2 separate regions of the Homo sapiens genome follow, and region 1 is linked to region 2. The links are contacts of gene promoters, found by promoter capture Hi-C in human tissues and cell types (Jung and others, 2019). All regions are on one chromosome and are shown on one strand. Each heading gives the region's core, a stretch centred on a gene start or on the middle of the fragment in contact. The rest is flanking DNA. Distances are from core to core; before and after follow the strand shown.

Region 1 (4,610 bases), core at 1,414-3,913, 150 kb before region 2:
TACAGTCAGCCTTCCATATCTGCCAGTACCACATTCATGGACTCAACCAACTGTGGATCAAAAATATTAAAAATATTAAAGAAAATTTTAAAAATATTAAATAAGAATATTACAAAAATACAATATTAAGTAATACAACTATTTACATAGGATTAACATTATGCTAGGTAATATAAGTAATCTAGAAATGATTTAAAGTATAGGCGACCTGGGCACAGTGGCTCACACTGCTTAATCCCAGCACTTTGGAAGGCTGAGGCAGAAGGATTGTTTGAGGCCAGGAGTTTGAGGCTGCAGTGAGTTATAATCACACCACTGTAGTTCAACCTCGGCAACAGAGCAAGGCTCTCTCTAAAAAAGAAATTAATCATTTAATATTAAAATTAAAAATTAATTACTTGATTTTTAAATTGTAAATAAATTACTTAATTTTTAAATTAAAAATAAATTAGCTAGCTGGGCATGGTGGCTCATGCCTGTAATCCCAGCACTTTGGGAGGCTGAGGCGGGCAGATTACCTGAGGTCAGGAGTTCAAGGCCCGCCTGGCCAACATGGTGAAACTCTGTCTCTACTAAAAATACAAAAATGAGCCAGGCACAGTAGCAGGCGCCTGTAATCCCAGCTATTCAGGAGGCTGAGGCAGGAGAATCGCTTGAGCCCCAGAGGTGGAGGTTGCAGTAAGCCGAAATTGAGCCACTGCACTCTAGACTGGGCGACAGAGCAAGACTCTGTCTCAATAAATAAATAAATAAATAAATAAATAAATAAGTTTTTAAATTTTTAATTAAATTTAATTTTTTTTAAAAAAAGACTTAGTATTGGATAGACCAGTAGGGTGACTATAGTTCAAAATAATCCATTGTATATTTCAAAATACCTAGAAGAGAACAATTGGAATGGTTGGAGCATAAAGATAAGACAAATATTTAAGGTGATGGATATCTAAAGTAACAAATCCTTGCAGATTATACAAATGTATTACACTATCACATGCATCCTGAAACAATGTACATCTCTTATGCATTGATACAAAAATTTAAAAAAAGCCAGGTGTGGTGGCATGCACCTGCAGTCTCAGCTACTCGTCAGGCTGAGTCCAGAGGATCGCTTTAGCCCAGGAATTCGAGGCAGCAGTGAGCTGTGATCACACCACTGCACTCCAGCCTGGGCAACAAAGTGAGAGACTGTCTCAAAAATCAATTAGTCAGTCAATCAATCCAAAAAGAACTCAAGTCCACGTGGTCCGATTCCAAAACTATCACCCTGAACCATCTGATCTCTGGTCTCATGTATTCAAAGACATTGGTCAGGTGGGGCACAGTGGCTCATGCCTGTAATCCCAGCACTTTGGGAGGCTGAGACGGGCAGATCACCTGAGGTCAGGAGTTCGAGACCATCCTGGCCAATGTGGTGAAACCCCGTCTCTATTAAAAATAGAAAAATTAGCTGGGCTTGGTGGCACGTGCCTGTAATCCCAGCTACTCCGGAGGCTGAAGCAGGAGAATCGCTTGAACCCAGGAGGCGGAGGTTGCAGTGAGCCAAGATTGCGTCACTACACTCCAGTCTGGTCAACAGAGCGAGACTCCATCTCAAAAAACAAACAAACAAACAAAAACAAAAACAAAAACAGAAAACCCCAAAGACATTAGTCAGGCTTTCAAGACTTCTCATTACTTCTTTCTCCCTGACATATCCCAGCAGTGTAAGCCCAAGAAGCTGAGACATCAATGGAAAGATGGTATCCTAGATATTAGTTTCCTCAAAGCCTTCAACATGTCCTTGTTTCTCAGGCTGTAAATGAGTGGGTTCAGCATGGGGGTGACCACGGTATACATCACTGATGCTATTGCACCCTTCCTGGAGGAGTGGGTAGCCCCAGAACTAAGGTACACCCCAAACCCTGTTCCATAAAACAAGGAAACAACGATTAAATGTGACCCGCAGATGGAAAAAGCTTTATACTTTCCACCAGCTGATGGAATTTTCATGACAGAGGAGACAATTCGTGTGTAAGAGAAAATGATCCCAGAGAGAGGAACAACACCTAACAGGCTGGTCACCAAATACACCAGGATGTTATTGATGAGGACATCAGAACAGGCGAGCTTGAGAATATGAGCTAGTTCACAGAAAAAGTGGGGAATTTCCAGGTCTATGCAGAAGGTCAGCTGTAGCACCATCAACGTGTGCAGCAGAGCATCCAGGACACTAACGATGAAGGACAGCAGAAGCAGCAGCCCACAGAGTTTGGGGTTCATGATGACATTGTACCTCAGTGGGTGACAGATGGCCACAAATCGATCATAGGCCATCATGACCAGAATTCCATTTTCCAATCCAACAAAAACCAGGACAAAGCAGATTTGGGTGAGGCAGCCTGTGTAATTGATGGATTGAGCCTGTGCCTGGATGTTCACCAGCATCTTGGGCATCGTGGTGGAGGTGAAACAGATGTCGACCAAGGACAGGATAGAGAGGAGGAAGTACATGGGGGTGTGGAGGTGGGAGTCAGAGTTGACGGCCAGGATGATGAGCAGGTTCCCCAGCATTGTGGCCAGGTACATGGACAGGAACAGCATGAAGAGGATGGGCTGCAGCTCCGGATCCCCTGACAATCCCAAGAGAAAGAATTCTGGAGTGTCTGAGAAGTTTCCTGCTTTCATGTTGTTGATGAGTCTTGATCTTGTCAATATTATCAAAACCAAACCAGTTATAAGTTATAGACCTTTTTTCCTTCCTTCCTTCCTTCTTTCTTTCTTTCTTCCTTCCTTCCTTCCTTTCTTTTTCTTTCTTTCTTTCTTTCTTTCTTTCTCTCTCTCCCTCTCTCTCTTTCTCTTTCTCTCTCTTTCTTTCTTTCTCTCTCTCCCTCCGTCTTTCTTTCTTTCTCTTTCTTTCTTTCTTCTTACTTTCTTTTTCTTTCCCTCCCTCCCTCTCTCCCTCCTCTTTCTTTTTCTCTTTCTCTTTCTTTCTTTTCTCTTTCCTTCTTTCTTTCTTTCTCCTTTTTCTTTCTTTCTTCCTTTCCTTTCTTTCTCTTTCTTTCTCTCTCTCCCTCCCTCCTTCCCTCCCTCTCTCCCTCCTCTTTTTCTCCTTCCTTCCTTCCCTCCTTCCCCCCTCTCTTTCTTTCTCTCTCTTTTCCTTCCTTCCTTCCTTTCTCTCTCTCTCTCTCTTTCTTTCCTTCCTTCCTTCCTTCCTCCCTTCCTTCCCTCCTTCTTTCTTTCCTTCTTTCTTCTTTGCAGGGTCTCTCTCTCTCTGTCATCCATGCTGGAGTGCAGTGGCATGATCATAGCTCACTGTAGCCTCATCCCCCTGGGCTCAAGCAATCCTCCTCTCTCAGCCTCCCAAATAGCTGGGATGACAGGCATGAACCCCCATGCCCAGCCTGTTCTTTACTTCCTTCCTAGGTACCCTATCAGTGTCTTTCTCACCCACCAATTTCCCTTTCTCATTACAGTTTGTGAAAATAAAAATTAAGCCCTCTTTATCTAGCAGCATAAGCCCCTCCCACTATTTTTATTTGCCTTCATCTGTCTTTCATTTGTATCACAGATAATGTTAATAAAGAAAATTTTAACAGTAAGCCATGCATCAGACCCTCTTTCCATTATTTTTTTCTTTTCTTTTTTTTTTTGAGATGGAGTCTCGCTCTGCTACCCAGGCTGGAGTGCAGTGGTGGGATCTCAGCTCACTGCAACCTCTTCCTCCAGGGTTTGAGTGATCCTCCTGCCTCAGCCTCCCAAGTAGCTGGAACTACAGGTGTGTGCCAACACACCTGGCTGATTTTTATACTTTTAACAGAGATAGGGTTTCACCATGTTGGCCAGGCTGGTCTTGAACTCCTGACTTGAAGTGATCCACCCGCCTCAGCCTCCTAAAGTGCTGGGATTACAGGCTTGAGCCACTGCACCCACTCTTCCTATTATTACTGGTGCAGCCCCTGGTTCAGGCAACCCCTGAGCCTTGGCACTGATTCCTGGAGGAGTCCTGTGTGAGTCAGCGCCAAACCTTTCCTGTTCCTTCTGGCTTATCCAGATTCTTGAGAAATTGATTCTGGGGCCCCCAAAGCAGGAAGTAAAGAATTGATGTATGCCGGCAATGTCAAAACATCAGCCTGCTGTTCTCATAAACCCATAAGTTAAGGAAATTCTGTAATGATGACTCAGGAGTTGGGGCAAACATATTATAGAATCACAGCATGTGAACAGTTGAATGGTGCAGTGAGCCCATCTCAGCCCTTTGCTTCACAAATTGAGTTCCTGGCCAGACACAGCGGCTCACACCTATAATCCCAGCACTTTGGGAGGCTGAGGCAGAAGGGTCGCTTGAGGCCAGGAGTTTGAGACCAGCCTGAACAAAGTAGCAAGACCCATCTATAGTAAACATTTTTTAAAAATTAAATTAAATTAAAAATTAGCCAGGCACGGTGGTACGTGTCTGTAGTCCCAGCAACTTGGGAGGCTGAGTTGGGAGGATCACTTGAACCCAGGAGTTGGAAGCTGCAGTGAGCTTTCATAGGGTCACTGCATGCCAGCCTGGGCAACAGAGCAAGACTCTGCCTCTTAAAACAAATACACAAACAAGCTGGGCGCGGCGGCTCAAGCCTGTAATCCCA
Region 2 (4,226 bases), core at 1,378-3,877:
TTCTTTAGCTCACTGCTGCTACCTCTGCCAACTCAGAAGCCCAGGACCAATGTCCCCGTCATTGAGCATACAGCATTCTCCCAAGCAGTGTTTCTAGGGTCCTCTTGATGTCCCTGTTCCGCAAGCAATAGATGAAGGGGTTCAGCATGGGGGTGACCACAGTGTACATGACCGAGGCCACCATGCCCCACCAGGAAGAGGACGATGCATTGGAACTAAGATACACACCAAGGCCTGTCCCATAGAATAAAGAAACCACAAACAGATGAGATCCACAGGTAGAAAAGGCTTTGTGTTTCCCATCTGTGGATGAGATTCTCAGGATGTAGGAGACAATTTGGGTGTAGGAGAAAAGGATCCCTGAGAAGGGCACAAAGTCCAGAAGGCCGGCCACCACGTAGAGCAGGATGTAATTGACATGTGTGTCTGAGCAGGTAAGCCTGAGGACCTGAGCAAGCTCACAGTAAAAGTGCTGAATGACTCAACTGGTGCAGAAGGACACCCGCAGCACCAACAGACTCTGGATCAGGGAGTATGACAAGCTGAGGAACCAGGACACAAGAACCAGCAGGCCACAGAGGCAGGGGTTCCTGGTGACACAGTAGTACAGGGGGTGACAGATGGCCACATACCGGTCATAGGCCATCACGGTGAGGAGAAATGTGTCCATGCCTCCAAAAACCATGAAAAACATACATCTGGGCGATGCAGTCTGCATAGCTGATGGCATTGCTCTGCACCTGGATGTTCACCAGCATCTTGGGGACTGCGGTGGAGGTGAAACCGATGTCAGCCAGGGACAGATTGGAGAGGAAGAAGTACCTGGGGGTGTGGAGGTGGGAGTCAGAGCTGATGGCCAGGATGATGAGCAGGTTCCCCAGAACGGTGACCAGGTACATGGACAGAAACAGTGCAAAGAGCAACTGTTGATCCTCTAGGTCTTGGGAAAATCCCAGGAGTAAAAATTCTGAAACTCTTGTTTGATTTCCCAAGTCCATGTTGCTGACACATCAGCTAGACAGTTAAGGAAGGGAAGAAACATGAAATAGATGCTGAACAGGCTCCAAAATCTCTCTGCTTTTTTATTTCTTGAGGTGAATAATTGGATACAAAAGCTTTAAAATAGCAAAACTTAGGAATCCTACATTCTGTCATTTGTTATAGGCAACATTTCATAACGTTGACTAACCCCTGTTCATTGGCCTCTCAGAGGCTTACCCATTCCCTTTTTCTCTGCTTTAGAATCATCAAATCTACCAAGAGCAACTTTAGACCTTAGAGATAAAATGGTCTGCACCTGCTCTAACACATATAAGGTTCAGTGAACTTAAGAAAAGGTCAGGGTCATCTTCCTTGTCTAAGACACAACTGAGACTGAAGAAGGTCAGACAACTATGTCTGAGCAGTGAGAAAATATGAAAGCAGAGATAATAGCTAGACAAAATATTGCAAGATGAGTGGATTTAGGTTTTCAAGGAAGGAAAGAGGAAGGGAGGGAGGGAAGGAGGAAGGAAGGGAAGGAAGGAAAGAAGGAAGGAAGGAAAGGAAGAAAGGAAGGAAGGAAGGAAGGAAGGAAGGAAGGAAGGAAGGAAGGAAGGAAGGGTTACTTGTTGCCTTAAGTCCCACTTGGAATTATGGTGGCAGCCAAATTCTGATTCAAATAGGTCATGACATTACCAGTAATAACATTCATCTTAAGAAGCTGACCGCACATTAAAAACTTTCTACCTTAGAACCAGGGTTTCAAAATTAGAGACCAGAAAGATACAGTCATTTGACACTTATATGATTCTCTTTTTCCATCCACATAATAAATATGTCCTAATCTGTTTCTAGTGTCTAGTGTTGGTGCACAATTTTTTTTGTTGTTGTTGGGTTTTTGTTTGTTTTCTTTTCTTTTGAGACAGAGTCTTGAGCTGTCACCCAGGCTGGAGAGTTCAGTGGCGCAATCTCGGCTCACTATAACCTCTGCCTCCCGGGTTCAAACAATTCTCCTGCCTCAGCCTCCTGAGTAGCTGGGATTACAGGTGTGCACCACCATGCCCAGCTAGTTTTTGTAAAAATACAAAACTAACTAGCTAGTTTTTTACAAAAACTAGTTAGTTTTACCATGTTGGCCAGGCTGGTCTTCAACTCCCAACCTCAGGTGATCTGCCCACCTCGGCCTCCCAAAGTGCTGGGATTACAGGCATGAGCCACAGCACGTGGCCTGGTGCATAATTTTTGTTGAGCCGTGCTGGGAAGTACAGAAGAATTGAACTAGGTTGACAACTAGGTTGTCAGTCACTGAAAAAGTGCTAACAGCCATTCTGCAAGAGGGTCTTCTTTGGGCCAGGCTAAGTGTTAGCTGTTGGGGATACAAAGATTAATGATGTGGTCTTTTTTTTCTTATGGTTCCACCTTCCAGAAGATGGATTCAGAAACAGATCATTGTAACACAGTGAATTAAGTGCTAAAATAAAACGATGTACAGAGTGGAGTACAGAGAGGAACCCTCAATCCAGCCTGGAGTAATGCATTCAGGGAAGGAGTCCTGGAGGAAGGAATACCTGGGCAAGGAGTTACCCAGGTGAATGGTTGCACAGGGGCATTTCTGGCAGAGATATAAGCAAGGGAATAAGCCTAGAAGCAAGAAGCAGCATGGGACAGAGTTCTCTTAGCCCTTTGCTGCTGCTTAAGTACAAAGTGTTAGATAGAAACGATGAGGATGATGTTGGAGAGGTGGGCAGGGATGACATGTCTAAGAACTTTGAAAAGTATAATCCATAAAGGATGGGGCTGTGAAGGAACGGCAATCAAAGGAGTAACATGATAGGAATTGCAATTCTCCCTGGGGCCTGGAGGGAAAGATGGATTTAGGGCAGGCAAAACTAAGGATAAGGGAACAGGGTTGGGGATTCTTCATATCATTGGAATTGAGGGGAACAACTCAGGAATATTTTTGCAGAAGAAATACAAAGGCCAGGAGAGGTAAAGGAATGAGGTCAATGTCTTGCTAACAATCTCAGCTTAAGGATGAGACTTGACCTTCAAGTGAAATGAAGGGAATTATGGAAAAGAATCCTGCAGGTTTCAATGCTTCCCTCGTGTTCCCCAGAGGATACGATGTCAAGAGGAGACTGGATGTTGGGCTTGCCTGAGCCCTTCACTTTCCCTCACTCACCCATCGTACCCTAGTTGTTATACACCATGGCCTTCCATTCCAGGGAACACAGACGCTTGTCTCTTGAAGGTGTCTACTTAGAATCATGGATAAGGGTAAAGAAGGATGGGGAAGGATAAGTCTTTCTGGAGAGGCAGGAGATGTTTCCAAGCAAGTGAGGGTCACAGAGAAGAATTCAGAGAGGCTTGATCTAGGCTGAGGGCCTCTGAAGTTCTTGGGTCAGGTAGTAGGTGAAAAGAACTAGAAGTGACCAGGACTTCACTGCAAGGCACCTACAGCTCCTACTGAAACCTGCAGGATTCTTTTCCATAATTCCCTTCATTTCACTTGAAGTCAAGTCTCGTCCTTAAGCTGAGATTGTTAGCAAGACATTGACCTCATTCCTTTACCTCTCCTGGCCTTTGTTTTTCTTCTGCAAAAATATTCCTGAGTTGTTCCCCTCAATTCCAATGATATGAGGAATCCCCAACCCTGTTTCCTTGTCCTTAGTTTTGCCTGCCCTAAATCCATCTTTCCCTCCAGGCCCCAGGGAGAATTGCAATTCCTATCATGTACCTTGGAGCATCCATTTGTACAATGCAGATTGGTCACTCCAAGACCACACAGAGTGATCCAGGGCAGCGCTAAGATATCAAACAGTGCCCCAGGCCAACAAAGAGTAGCCCTTCCTATAACCTCCATCAGTCATCTACCCAAGTAATATACAGGCAAAGTTAAAGCTCGCTATACAATGGCTATTTAAGCAAGTAGTCTAGCCATTCTCCCTTCCAAGAAATCAGCCTCAACAGCCCCTTCTCCGTGGACATCACAGGGTTTCTCCTGCCCTATGATTAACAAGTCAATGCCTTTCCCCTCAATCATCTCTTTTCCCTATTTCCCTCAACACTTACTGAGCTATGAAGGTTTGACAATGTGGACCCACCACAGGAGCCACCTTGTGTCCAGAATTGGTGGGTTCTTGGTCTCACTGACTTCAAGAATGAAGCCGCAGACCCTCGCGGTGAGTGTTACAGCTCTTAAGTGGCGCGTCTGGAGTTTGTTCCTTCTGATGTTCGGATGTGTT

What was found. The method cuts DNA at HindIII sites, captures the fragments that hold promoters and counts their contacts. A contact is called where the count stands out against the background at its distance.
Region 1: a contact is called between the fragment with the promoter of OR7G3 here and a fragment that was not itself captured in region 2, in 2 of the 25 tissues and cell types used here (H1 embryonic stem cells and dorsolateral prefrontal cortex).

Annotation. Positions count from the first base shown.
Region 1 is chr19:9,124,287-9,128,896 of GRCh38, forward strand. OR7G3 (olfactory receptor family 7 subfamily G member 3) reads right to left here and starts at 2,664. Exons shown (of 1, transcript NM_001001958.1): 1 at 1,726-2,664. The coding sequence starts at 2,664. The coding sequence ends at 1,726. The HindIII fragment of the contact is 7,276 bases long and covers 14-4,610 here.
Region 2 is chr19:9,278,372-9,282,597 of GRCh38, forward strand. It overlaps the pseudogene OR7H1P. Among named protein-coding and RNA genes, the nearest start is that of ZNF699, 29 kb to the right of the region's middle. The HindIII fragment of the contact is 5,089 bases long and covers 84-4,226 here.